3 separate regions of the Homo sapiens genome follow, and all the other regions are linked to region 1. Evidence: promoter capture Hi-C in 16 types of primary human blood cells and fetal thymus (Javierre and others, 2016). All regions are on one chromosome and are shown on one strand. The core of a region is centred on a gene start or on the middle of the fragment in contact, and the rest is flanking DNA. Distances in the headings are between cores, read along the strand shown. Region 1 holds the start of HCAR1 (hydroxycarboxylic acid receptor 1). Region 2 overlaps KNTC1 (kinetochore associated 1). Region 3 overlaps KNTC1 (kinetochore associated 1).

What was found. Contacts are between HindIII fragments. The CHiCAGO score rates a contact against its expected background, and 5 or more counts as called.
Region 2: a contact is called between a fragment that was not itself captured here and the fragment with the promoter of HCAR1 in region 1, in 1 of 17 cell types (endothelial precursors). The highest score is 5.2, in endothelial precursors.
Region 3: a fragment that was not itself captured here is called in contact with the fragment with the promoter of HCAR1 in region 1 in 1 of 17 cell types (endothelial precursors); the score reaches 5.9 in endothelial precursors.

Annotation. Positions count from the first base shown.
Region 1 is chr12:122,728,387-122,732,736 of GRCh38, forward strand. It overlaps HCAR1 (hydroxycarboxylic acid receptor 1), which reads right to left and starts at 2,458. Exons shown (of 1, transcript NM_032554.4): 1 at 1-2,458. The coding sequence starts at 1,953. The coding sequence ends at 913. RefSeq lists an enhancer at 1,220-1,887. The HindIII fragment of the contact is 4,369 bases long and covers 2,417-4,350 here.
Region 2 is chr12:122,571,941-122,576,466 of GRCh38, forward strand. KNTC1 (kinetochore associated 1) reads left to right here. Exons shown (of 64, transcript NM_014708.6): 25 at 997-1,116; 26 at 1,202-1,345; 27 at 2,342-2,440; 28 at 3,603-3,706; 29 at 3,860-3,959. Among named protein-coding and RNA genes, the nearest start is that of KNTC1, 47 kb to the left of the region's middle. The HindIII fragment of the contact is 1,520 bases long and covers 2,496-4,015 here.
Region 3 is chr12:122,534,261-122,538,687 of GRCh38, forward strand. It overlaps KNTC1 (kinetochore associated 1), which reads left to right. Exons shown (of 64, transcript NM_014708.6): 3 at 404-524; 4 at 4,079-4,194. Among named protein-coding and RNA genes, the nearest start is that of KNTC1, 9.2 kb to the left of the region's middle. The HindIII fragment of the contact is 3,394 bases long and covers 656-4,049 here.

The sequences.
Region 1 (4,350 bases), core at 1,208-3,707:
CCAGGAAGTCACAATGATGACAGACGTACAGATGTACATTTGGACAAAATGTACAGATGTACAAAGAAATGTAAAGATGAAAATTGATAGATCAATAGATCCCAATCTAAAGAGCCTCATTCGGCCTGAAATAAAGCATTGATTGACTGAGCCCGGTTTCTGTTTTCTGAGATAAGGAATGATTTAAGGTCAGAGGATAGGAAATGCTGCTAACTGCCCCATAGCCCCTAAGAGAGTGAACATGCCCCATTCAAACACATATACCCATTTACTTAGCCATTTAAAATGACACAGGGGAGGCCAGGCACGGTGGCTCACGCCTGTGATCCCACCACTTTGGGAGGCCAAGGCAGGCGGATCACCTGAGGTCAGGAGCTCGAGACCAGCCTGGCCAACATGGCAAAACCCTGTCTCTACTAAAAATACAAAAATTAGCCGGGTGTGTTGGCTGGCGCCTCTAATCCCAGCTACTCGGGAGGCTGAGGCAGGAGAATTGCTTGAACCCGGGAGGCAGAGGTTGCAGTGAGCCGAGACTGTGCCACTGCACTCCAGCCTGGGACACAGAGTGAGACTCTGTCTCAAAACAAAAACAAACAACGAAAATTACACAAGGGCTGTGCAGTTCCTAGCCCCCCTCCCAACACACACATGCTCCACTCCATGCACATTCTGTCCCCTGCCATTGTGATCAGATAAGAAAATGCAGCCAACTCACTTCAATCAACTGGAACCTCCCCAAAAGGTATAGTTGTGTGAATTTCATTTCCGACAGAATGAGAAGGATGCAGTTCATGTGCGAGAAGCCGTCTTGCAATAAGAAAGGGGGGTGGCATTTTCAAAGCCCCCGACCCCTTAGCACGAGTTAATTCTAAGTCACCACTCTATCTTCCTCAGTGTTGTTGGTCTGCTTGTTCAGTGCCACTCAACAATGTGGGGATCCCATTGCCCATCAGACTGGCTTTGGAAACTATTTGCCACACTGATGCAACTCCTGCGACCGAGGTTCGAAATTGGCATCTCTTCCGGCCTTTGTGTTTTTGAGTGTCCTGGCTGCTTGGGTTTCAGACTGCAGATTTTGAGCTTGTTGTAGAATTTGGGAAAGGAGGGGCTTGAAAAATAATACACCAGGGGATCCAGCATGCTGTTCATGTAGGTGAAGCTGAGGGTTATGTGCAGGGCCCCATGGACAGAGGGATCGCAGGCACTCGAGGGCACCGTCCAGAGGAAATAGAGTCTAGCAGACACGCTGGGCAGGTAGCATGTGATGAACACAATTGCCACCACCATGATGAACCGGGTCGCCTTCTTCATCCGAGCCTGTCTGGCCAGCTGCTGCCTCCGCCTCAGGCTCCAAACAATCTTGAAGGAGCAAAATAAGATGATGCCGAGGGGCATAAAGAACTCCAGCTGGAACATGATGTCATGCCAGCCATTGGCCGACTCCATGATGAAGCTCTCACAGGAGACGGCCGTCTCTTGCACGCAGAGATGGTTCTCCAGCAAAAGATACACTGTTCCCAGGATGACCAGGGCCCACAGGGTGCAGACGATGCCAGCCGCCACCCGGGTGGAGATAGTGTTCACCGCGTGGTGGGGGTGGACCACTTTGAAATACCTGTCCGCAGCCACCACCGTAAGGAACACGATGCTCCCGGCCCTGTTCATGGCCAACGTGAAGAGCCCCACTCGGCAGGGAATGTCCCCAAAAGCCCAGTGTCTACGTCTGAGGTAATAGTCTGTCCGAAAAGGCAGGCAGATCATAAGGAGGAAATCAGCCACGGCCAAATTGAAAAGGTAAACAGTGCTGGGCTTCCAGGTCTTCATGTGGAAGCAGAAACCACACAGGGCGACCCCATTGCCTAGTGCGCCCAGCACAAAGGCCACAATGAGCAGCGGCGGCATCACCTGGGAGATGGTGTCCCCCTCGATGCGGCAGCACGACCCGTTGTACATGGCGGGGACAGAGCAAGTGTCCGGGTGCAGAGCAGCCCAGGGAGTCCCCACAATGGCACAGATGCTTATCTGAGCGTTAGCACTCACCCAGCTGCTGCGTGTCTGACTTCATCACCCAGGATGCGGGTCCTGTGTGTGTGGGTTGGATGCTGCCACAGCAGCGAGAAGAGAAACTTCAGCCAGGAAATGAGAGACCCAGGGAGGTCCTTTCTCTGGAGCCCGTCTCACAAGCCGCCTGCCTCTGGGAGAGGCCAAGCCTGGAGCCGGATGAAGCTTGGAAATGCATGCAATTTTGCAAAAGTGGTCATTTCTGAGAGGCGGTAGGGTGGGGGGGTCCGATGAGATTGATGCCGTAGAGGAGCGATTGGGTCCAGCGCCAGAGTAATTTTCATTTTCAGCTTCGCTGTTCCTCCTCGGACTCCGTGCTGGAGAGCACACAAAGCTGCCCAGAAGGCAAGAAGAAAGCTTGTTTGTCCTCCCTCCTGGTGGAGAAATCCAAACATTTCCTGGAGTGGTTCTGGGCTCCTGCCTTTGCTTTCCTCCCGTAACCTTTGCCTGACTGCCTTGTCCTCTCCCTCATCCCACGGGGCACTCCCATGCGGTGCCAGAGAGGGGAGGCTTTGCTCTGCAGCTCCTCCGGGCCATTTCCTGTGCCGAAAAATACCGCGCTCAAAAATTGGAGGAGTCTGCGGAGAGAAAAGTTCTAATCACGATACTTGATGGATGTTAGAAAAATTCTTTGACGGGAGTCACCTTTCCCCCGCTCTATTCCCACCTCCCTGCCCTTTACATCCTTCCGTGAACCAAAGTGGCCAGTTGCACAACCACCAAGACCATGAAATAGATCTGAAGCCCACTTCTCATATGTCTGTCTCCACAAAACGGCCTCTTTGGGAGCCGGTTTCCCCCTCTGCTGGGAAGCAGAGCCTAGAACTTTTACAAAGATTTGGCCCTGAGTTTCCATTGGCTGTTGAATGAGCCAAACACCATGAGATGTACGTTTTTAATTTCAATTATGTGCTGAGCCCATCAATTAAAACTGCCCCCTGGGGGCGGAAGAGGATTGGAGGAGTTGATTAAGGAGTCCATCTCTAAAGCAATCATGAGTAACATTAGACTGCACAAAAAATTGGAGTCTTTGCTAAAATTTCCTGTCCTTTGGCTTTAAGGATTATTAATCTGCCCTGTGCCTTTCAGCTTCCAGTTTAGAAAATGGGGTGGAGGCCGGGCGCGGTGGCTCACGCTTGTAATCCAAGCACTTTGGTAGGCCCAGGCGGGCGGATCACCAGGTCAGGAGATGGAGACCATCCTGGCTAACACGGTAAAACCCCGTCTCTACTAAAAATACAAAAAAATGAGCCAGGCGTGGTGGCGGGCGCCTGTAGTCCCAGCTACTCGGGAGGCTGAGGCAGGAGAATGGCGTGAACCCGGGAGGCAGAGCTTGCAGGGAGCCAAGATTGCGCCACTGCACTCCAGTCTGGGTGACAGAACCAGACTCCGTCTAAAACAAACAAACAAACAAACAAACAAAACAACAAGAAAAAGAAAAAGAAAAAAGAAAGAAAGAAGAAAATGGGGTGGAGGCCAGTCGCGGTGGCTCACATCTATAATCCCAGCACTTTGGGAGGCCGAGGCAGGTGGATGACTTGAGGTCAGGAGTACAAGACCAGCCTTGCCAACATGGTGAAACCCCATCTCTACTAAAAATATACAAAAATCAGTCAGGTGTTGTGGCATGTGTCTGTAATCCCAGTTACTCAGGAGGCTGAGGCAGGAGAATCACTTGAACCCGGGAGGTGGAGGTTGCAGTGAGCCGAGATCGTGCCAATGAACTCCAGCCTGGGTGACAGAAAGAAACTCTGTCTCAAAAAAAAAAAATGGGGCGGAAAAGAGGGGGTGCATTGAAAGAATGTGTCTGTCTTCTAGATGCACACTGAAGCTAAATTCTTCCCACTGGATGCTGGACTCCAAATCTGTCCACCCACATTCTCCCCTGCCTCGCCCTAGCACAGACCGCAGTCACTTCCCACCTGAACTGTTGAAACAGTTTCCTAACTGGTTTCCCTTCCTCTCATCTATTTCCTGTAAGTCATCTTCTACACAATAATCTGATTTTTCTGAAGCACAGATATTATCATATACCTTTTTTCACTTAAAAATCTTCACTAGCTCCCTTCAATCTGCCAAGGGGCTAGAATGATGGCCTGTGGACCATATCTGGTTTAAAAACCAGCCTGGCTTGGCCGATATGTTTTTAAAACCTGGTGCAGTCCTATAAAAACCTGGATTTCTGTTGTCTCTTAGAACACTGGAAGATCTGGCCACACTGGACCGACACTCCCACATGGAAACAATCAGCTGGAGCTTAGAGTAGATGGAGTAGAGACAGAGAATGAG
Region 2 (4,526 bases), core at 2,006-4,505, 160 kb before region 1:
GGATTACAGGCATGAGCCACTGCTCCTGGCCCCCCTCCACCTGTTTTAATGAACAGTTTTTCTCTATTCAACCAACCAAAAGGGGAACTATATAAACATTCTGCTAAGTGGTATAATTGGGATTTTCTGCATTAGCAGCATTTCACAATCCTTTGAAAAATTAAATCTTGGCTGGGCACGATGGCTTACGCCTGTAATCCCAGCACTTTGGGAGGCCGAGATGGGCAGATCATTTGAGGTCAAGAGATTGAAATCAGCCTGATTAACATGGTGAAACCCCATCCCTAGTAAAAATACAAAAAAAATTAGCCAGGCATGGTGGTGGGTGCCTGTAGTCCTAGCTATTTGAGAGCCTGCGGCAGGAGAATCGCTTGAAACGGGGAGGCAGAGGTTGCAGTGAGCCGAGATTGTGCCACTGCACTCCTGCCTGGGTGACAGAGCATGACTCTGTCCCCCCCAAAAAAAAAGAAAAAAGGAAAAATTAAGTCTTGACAGTACATTAATATTAGTTTTCAAAGGTTGTGTCTGTCAAGTCACCTTTTCTATATAAGAGCTTTTTCCTCTTGCTGTAAAACATTATTTTTATCTTTTCCCTGTTAACTTTTATCAATATTGAAGGTTCTGTTCTTTTTATATAATTTTAGGAAATGTTATGCCTTTATATCTGGTTATGATATATAATCTCTATAGATAGATGGGACACTGAGCACTACCTAAATGATGCTGTGTACTAAGTATACTTGGGTTCTGAAAAAGTATTATACTAATATTCTTAATTTTTCTATTTTTTTAAGAGAAAATATCTTTCAGATTCTGATCTATACTAATTTGGTTAAAATACTACAAAATTTAGAGCATAAGTTGGTTTAAAGTTGCAGGTTTCCTCTTACGTGCATAACCAGGGTTAATTCTTATTTTATCTGAAATAATTCTGATTCTATTTTTCTCTCATACTTTTATTTTATATCGTTAACAACTTTAACACTTTTGTTTTAGAAAGATTATCAGAACACAGAGGAAGTATGTCAGCTAAGGACTTTGGTAAATAACTTGCGAGAGTTGATCACGTTGCATAGGAAGTACAACTGCAAATTAGCCCTCTCTGATTTTGAGAAGGTAAAGTCCAGGGTCATAAGAATTATTTTGTATATCAAGTTATGGGTAGAGTCTGTATTTATTCCATCTTTCTTTTGGCATCCAGGAAAATACAACCACCATAGTGTTCCGAATGTTTGATAAAGTGCTGGCCCCAGAGCTTATTCCCTCCATCTTAGAGAAGTTTATAAGAGTTTACATGAGAGAACATGACTTGCAAGAGGAGGAACTTCTCTTGCTGTACATAGAGGTAACTTTTCCTTTACATCTAGTCTTATTTCTTGGATCTATGCAGTGTAGCACTGTAGTAAATATTTAACTCTTTAAGGAATGTCATATGCTTTCTCAGTAGGACTCATGCAGCATATTGAATTGGTTAAAAATGTGGGTTAATTCTGCTACTAACCATCTTGAGCAAAGGGGGGATACATGAGGACTGTGAACCCGGAAAATCTGAGACAGTTCTCAGTTAATTTAGGGAGTTTATTTTGCCAAAGTTGAGGATACACCCATGACACAGCCTCAGGAAGTCCTGACGACATGTACCCAAGGTGGTCCGGGCACAGCTTGGTTTTATATATTTTAGGGAGAGACACGAGGCATCAGTCAGCATATGTAAGAAGTACATTGGTTCGATCTGGAAAGGTGGGACAACTTGAAGCAAAGGCAGGAAGACTCCAAGCGAGAGGGAGCTTCCAGGTCACAGATAGGTGATACAAAACATTAAAATTCTTTTGAGTTTCTGATTAGCCTTTCCAAAGGAGGCAATCAGATAATGCAGCTGTCTCAGTGAGCAGAGGGGTAACTTTGATAGAATGGGAGGCAAGTTTGCCCTAAGCAATTTCCAGCCTGAGTTTTCCTTAGTGATCTTGGGGGCCCAAGATATTTCCCTTTCACAGTACTTTCTTCAAAGGGCTATTGTGAGACCACAGGAGCATGAACTCAATAAATATTAGCAGTTATTTCTTGTGGATGTTATTAATGTGCTACAGTAATCTTATTTGTAGATTCTTCAAGAATGTTTCATTCTTAAATTTTCTATACCATATAAAACTAAAGGCTAATGTTTTGGCAGTTTTGTATTTTTAGACCATTGTTCAACATTTATGACTAATTAGAATTTTTAGGTTTTTTTTCTTTTAACACATCTATCAAGGCCATATAATATCTGTATCTAGCTGTATGTGGCATTTTTTTAATGAGAATTTTTAATTTTTAAAAAACATACATGTTTATCCCTTTTTAGGATTTACTGAATAGATGCAGCTCAAAGTCCACATCACTCTTTGAAACAGCATGGGAAGCAAAGGCCATGGCAGTAATAGCGTGTTTATCTGACACGGACGTAAGTAAATAGTGACCATTTGCGTTTCCCTTTTGAGCATTAAATCTTTTCTGAAAGCTTTTTTCTGTTCATAAAAGCGACATATATTTGTTTTTGTTTGAGATGGGTCTGGCTGTGTCGCCCAGGCTGGAATGCAGTGACATGATCATGGTTCACTGCAGCCTCAATCTCCCTGGCTCAAGCAATCCCCACCTCAGCCTCCTGAGTAGTTAGGACCATAGGCGTGTGCCACTACGCCCAGCTAATTTTTGTATTTTTTGTAGAGACAGGGTTTCCCAGGCTGGTCTTGAACACCTGGGCTCAAGTGATCTGCCTGCTTCATTCTCCTAAAGTGTCTGTTTTCTTTAATTACAGAAAATAAAAAGTGAATGTTTACTCATTTCCACCCCCAGGGGAACCTCCATGGACAGTTGTATGCATATCTTTGCAGGCTTTTCTGTGGTTATGCAAACATGGAGACTTTTCTTTTTCAGTTATTCGCTGCAATGTGAGACATTTGTTAATATATTGTAATATGCCTTTATTTTAACTTCACACTGTTATTGCCACTATAAAATAGAAATAAAATAATGAAAACTGTTTTTAAACCAGAGACTGAGGCTGGACACAGTGGCTCATGCCTGTAATCCCAGCACTTTTGGAAGCCAAGGCAGACAGATCACCTGAGCTCAGGAATTTGAGACCTGCCTGGGCAACATGGTGGAACCGCATCTCTACAGAAAATACAAAAATTAGCCAGGTGTGGTGGTGCTTGCCTGTAGTCCAAGCTACTTGGGAGCCTGAGGTGGGAGAATCGCTTGAACCCAGGAGGTGGAGGTTGCAGTGAGCTGAGATCGCGCCACTGCACTCCAGCCTGGGCAATGGGAACATGACCCTGCCTCAAAAAAACAAAAAAAACCCAGGGATTGTAGAGACCGTAGAAAGCAATAACGCTGTATGTCTTAGCTTACAGCAGAAAAAATACTCTTCTGAATTTTTCTGAATAGTCAAATTGTTCTCTATATGTGAAAACTGAAGAAATAAATGGTTTTCCAGTGAGTGGATGAAATATTCTCAAACTACCATGTGGTTGATGTAAGACCTGCTGATTAGACTGTGCTGTTCACTTGCATGCATCGTAAACCTGAGGGCTGTTCCTTGTCCATGCGTGCATCTTTTGTAGCTCATATTTGATGCCGTGCTCAAGATCATGTATGCGGCAGTGGTTCCTTGGAGTGCAGCTGTGGAGCAACTGGTGAAACAGCACCTGGAAATGGACCATCCCAAGTAAGATGACTGTCTACGAAACAATGTTGTTATGCTCTGGAGAAACATTGTGTTTTGAGTTGACGTTCATTTATGTTTCTATATTGTTTGCTGTGTCCCATAGTACTTCATAAAAAAGACAATCCATGTTAATATGGGTAAATTTGCTTTCAGAGTCAAGTTATTACAGGAAAGTTACAAACTAATGGAGATGAAAAAACTTTTACGAGGCTATGGAATAAGAGAGGTAAATCTCTTAAACAAGGAAATAATGGTAAGTACACTCTTCGAAGAGTCTTTTTTCTCTTTCATTTCTGGGGCAATATGGAAAGCTTAATGAGGAATTTATATTCTAGGAGGCTAATAGAGCTAGGTTTTTCCACTACATTTCTTTTGTTAGATATGATGTTAATAAGGTGTTCAGTTATTTATGAGAGTATTTATTCTTTTTGACATGGAGTTTCGCTCTTGCCGCCCAGGCTGGAGTGCAATGGCGCGATCTCGGCTCACCACAACCTCCGCCTTCTGGGTTCAAGTGATTTTCCTGCCTCAGCCTCCTGAGTAGCTGGGATTACAGGCATGCACTACCACGCTTGGCTAATTTTTTTTTTGTATTTTTAGTAGAGATGGGGTTTCTCCATGTTGGTCAGGCTGGTTGGTCTTGAGCTCCCGACCTCAGGTGATCTGCCTGCCTCGGCCTCCCATAGTGTTGGGATTACAGGCGTGAGCTACCGCTCCTGGGCTTTTTATGAGAGTATTAAAGACACCAAATAGGCCAGGTGCGGTGGCTCACACCCGTAATCCCAGCACTTTGGGAGGCCAAGGTGGGTGGATCATGAGG
Region 3 (4,427 bases), core at 1,103-3,602, 190 kb before region 1:
TTTCATGTCTGTGGGGGCATGGACCCTCCAGTTCACAGTTCACCACCGTTCCCCTGCCTAGCGTATCCACGACACCAAGACTTTATTCCAATCTTGATTAATTCATTATGTTAATACCTGGCTCCTGCAGCATAAAGTCAATCCTGAGGAAACAAGGACTTGAACATGAGAATCCTTTGCCCTTCCTGCTCATCCTGAACTGTTTTTCTACTTAGGATCCTGGATGGATTCAAGATATACCATACAAAGAAAAACTCGATGATTAATTAGATAGAGGGGCTAAAGAAAAAAAGCCTGTCAAGTTTTAAAGTGGGATATTTGGGAATTTGATGATACTATTGATAAGTATTATTAAACACATATAAAAATGTTTGAATTTTCATCATGCTTTTCTCTCCCACAGGCCTCATTAAATCCAAAGATACAGGCATGCAGCTTAAGTGATGGGTTTATTATTGTAGCCGACCAATCAGTGATATTGCTTGACAGTATTTGTAGATCACTTCAATTGCATCTTGTCTTTGGTAAGTATAATGTAGTGAATGAAGTAAGATAAATTGGAAGTCAAATACATCTGCTGCCAATTTCTGCTGGATTGCCTCCTCTTTACTCCATTATTTCTAAGATTTCAAATTAGACCAATTTCAAGTAATTAAGCTTGAGTGCTTAGTGCCTTATTTGCGTTGGGCACTAGAGTCAAAGGACACTGAGATGATCCCTTCTCTCAATACATCTGAGGGGAAATACACATGTAAAGCAACAACTTAGTTTACTTGCTTGTATTAGAATACTATGGAAAACATGAGCTCATTTGTGTTCAAATTCCTGAATCTTGTACAGAATTTCGGTATCATTAATGGGTATTTGCATATTTTTAGAATTAATAGCTCTCTAAAAATCCTTTAACATACTTATGAATTAATTCTTCATCGAGCTACAAGGCTTCAAGTACATGCAAATGTGGATTTGAGAGTGAATTAAAGCTGGGCGTGGTGGCTCATGCCTGCAATCCCAGCACTTTGGGAGGCTGAGGCCACCAGATCACTTGCGGTCAGGAGTTCAAGACCAGCCTGGCCAACATGGTGAAACCCCATTTCTACTAAAAATACAAAAATCACACCTGTAATCCTTGTACTTTGGAAGGCCCAGGTGGGTGGATTGCCTGAGCTCAGGGGTTTGAGACCAGCCTGGGCAACATGGTGAAATCCCGTTTTCTCTACTAATATACAAAAATTAGCTGGCCGTGCTGGTGTGCGCCTATAGTTCCAGCTACTCGGGAGGCTGAGGTAGGAGAATTGCTTGAACCTGGGAGGTGGAGGTTGCAGTGAGCCAAGATCACTCCACTACACTCCAGCCTGGGTGACAGAGCAAAACTCTGTCTCCAAAAACAACAACAACAACAAAAATTAGCTGGGCATGGTGGCATACACCTGTAATCCCAGCTACTCAGGAGTCTGAGGCAGGAGAATCGCTTGATCCCAGGAGGCAGAGGTTGCAGTGAGCCAAGATTATGCCACTATACTCTAGCCTGAGTGACAGAGTGACAGTCGTGTCTCAAAAACAAAAAAAAGAGTGAATTAAGGGGTAAGTCAGTGATTGTACTGAGCTTAGGCAAGAATATTATGAAAGTTTTTTTTTTTTTTTTTTGAGATGGAGTCTCTCTCGCTCTGTCACCCAGGCTGTAGTGCAGTGGCACAATCTCGGCTCACTGCAAGCTCTGCCTCCCGGGTTCACACCATTCTCCTGCCTCAGCCTCCTGAATAGCTGGGACTACAGGCGCCCACCACCATGCCTGGGCAATTTTTTGTATTTTTTTTTTTTTTTAGTAGAGACAGCATTTCACCATGTTAGCCAGGATGGTCTCGATCTCCTGACCTTGTGATCTGCCTGCCTCGGCCTCCCAAAGTGCTGGGATTATAGGCATGAGCCACGACACCCGACCCCGAAAGTTTTTTCTTTCTTGAGTAGAAATTTTTTTTTTTTTTGAGATGTAGTCTCGCACTGTCGCCTAGGCCGGAGTGTGGTGGCATGATGTCAGCTCACTGCAACCTCCGCCTCCAGGGTCCAAGCAATTCTCCTGCCTCAGCCTCCCAAGTATCTGGGACTACAGGCACCCATCACCACGCCCTGCTAATCTTTTTTTGTATTTTTAGAAGAAACAGGGTTTCACTATGTTGGCCAGGCTGGTCTCAACCTCATGATCTGCCCGCCTCGGCCTCCTGAAGTGTTGGGATTACAGACGTGAGCCACCGTGCCAGGCCTTTTTTTTTTTTTTCCCTGAGACAGTCTCGCTCTGTGGCCCAGGCTGGAGTGCAGTGGTGCTCTCTCAGCTCACTGCAACCTCCACCTCCCAGGTTCAAGAGATTCTTCTGCCTCAGCCTCCCAAGTAGCTGGGAGTACAGGCGCCTGCCACCATGCCTGGTAATTTTTGTATTTTTAGTAGGGTCAGGTTTCACCATGTTGGCCAGGCTGCTCTCAAATTCCTGACCTCAAATGATCCACCCACCTTGGCCTCCCAAAGTGCTGGGATTACAGGCGTGAGCCACTGCACCCGGCCATTAAATAGAAATTTTAAGAGAAAGATAGTTGTTGAAACTTTTACATAAGAACTTAGACAACTGAAAAGGAAACAGAACACATGCATTTTGGAACATATCTTGATTGCAACATGGAGGCAAGAAACTTGTGTTTTATGGAACCTTGACGTATTGACCCTGATTGGTCCACAAGATTCACAGTTTCTTCTATTAAGTGGTGGGATGAGTAACGATGATCCATTTGTGAAAAGACATTGTGGCGGAATAACTTGAGTTCGTAAGCCAGTTACATACTATTGTTTTTCTGTCTTGTCCCTTCCCTCTTTGCTTTGTTTTCTGTTACCTTGGCCTTCTTGCTTTTGCATGAATACAACAGGCACTTCCCACTCCATGATCTTTCCTTGAGCTGTGTCCACCATCTGAATGCTCGGAATGCTCTTCATCTTAGTCATTTGGCTAACTTCCTCACCTCTTTCATGTCTCCTGTGAGCTTTCTAATTAACACTGCAAAATGCACCATTCTTCTGAGCTCTCTTACCTGGCTCTACATTTTTTTCCCCAGAACATCTATCACCTTCTTACATGTCTCACAGTTTGTTTATTATGCTAATTGTTTATCAGCTATTTTTTTTTTTTTTTGAGACGGAGTCTGGCTCTGTTGCCTAGGCTGGAGTGCAGTGGCGTGATTTCAGCTCACTGCAGCCTCCACCTCCTGGGTTCAAGCGATTCTCCTGTCTCAGCCTCCTGAGTAGACTGGATTACAGGCACATGCCACCATGTCCGGCTAATTTTATATTTTTAGTAGAGACGGAGTTTCACCATGTTGGCCAGGCTGGTCTCGAACTCCTGACCTCAAGTGATCTGCCTGCTTCGGCCTCCCAAAGTGCTGGGGTTACAGGTGTGAGCCACCACGCCTGGTCATTTATCAGCTATTTCTGTCTTAGAATATGAGCTCTGTGACGGTGGTAATCTTTTGTTACTGTTCTCAGATATATGTAAAAGGCCTAGAACAAAGTTTACCATATAGTAAGTGCTCAGTAAATATTTCTTGACCAGCTGCATGCAGTGGCTCACATCTGTAACCTCAGCACTTTGGGAGGCAGAGATGGACAATCGCTTGAGCTCAGGAGTTCGAGACCAGTCTGGGTAACATGGCAAAACCTCGTCTGTACAAAAAATACCAAAAACTAGCTGGCCATAGTGGTGTGTACCTGTGGTCCCAGCTACCTGGGAGGCTGAGGTGGGAGAATTGCCTGACTGAGCCCAGGAAGTCTAGGGTGCAGTGAACTGGGGTGGTACCACTGCACTCCAGCCTGGGTAGCAGAGCGAGACGCTGTCTCAAAAACAAAACAAAACAAAAAATATTTGTTGACTGAATAAAAGTCAACAACATTCTTTTTTACTTTCATCACATCTGTTTTGCAGTATTTAGAAGTAACTTAAGTAATCGTTGGCTTTTTAATGAGAAAAATTTGTATTTTTTTTGTATTGAAAATAAAGATTTTCGAAGGAAGCTTGTAACTTTGATTTGAAATTTTCAGATACTGAAGTGGATGTAGTTGGCCTTTGTCAAGAAGGAAAGTTTCTTTTGGTTGGCGAGAGAAGTGGCAACCTACATCTTATTCATGTAACATCAAAACAAACACTACTCACTAATGTAAGATCTTGTTGTATTTTAATTTTCATTATTTAAATTCTAAATAATCTCTTAGACAACTAAAACTCTAGCAAACTATTACTTAACATGTGTTTTAAATTAAAGCAATGTTTTTTTGAACAATTAAGCTTTGAAGGTGTTACCACAGCTTGGATCCTGAGTTCTTGGCTCTCGTGTAAATAGAAATTAACACCAGGTCAAACAGAAATTTTCCCAGGGAATGTTTAGTAGGC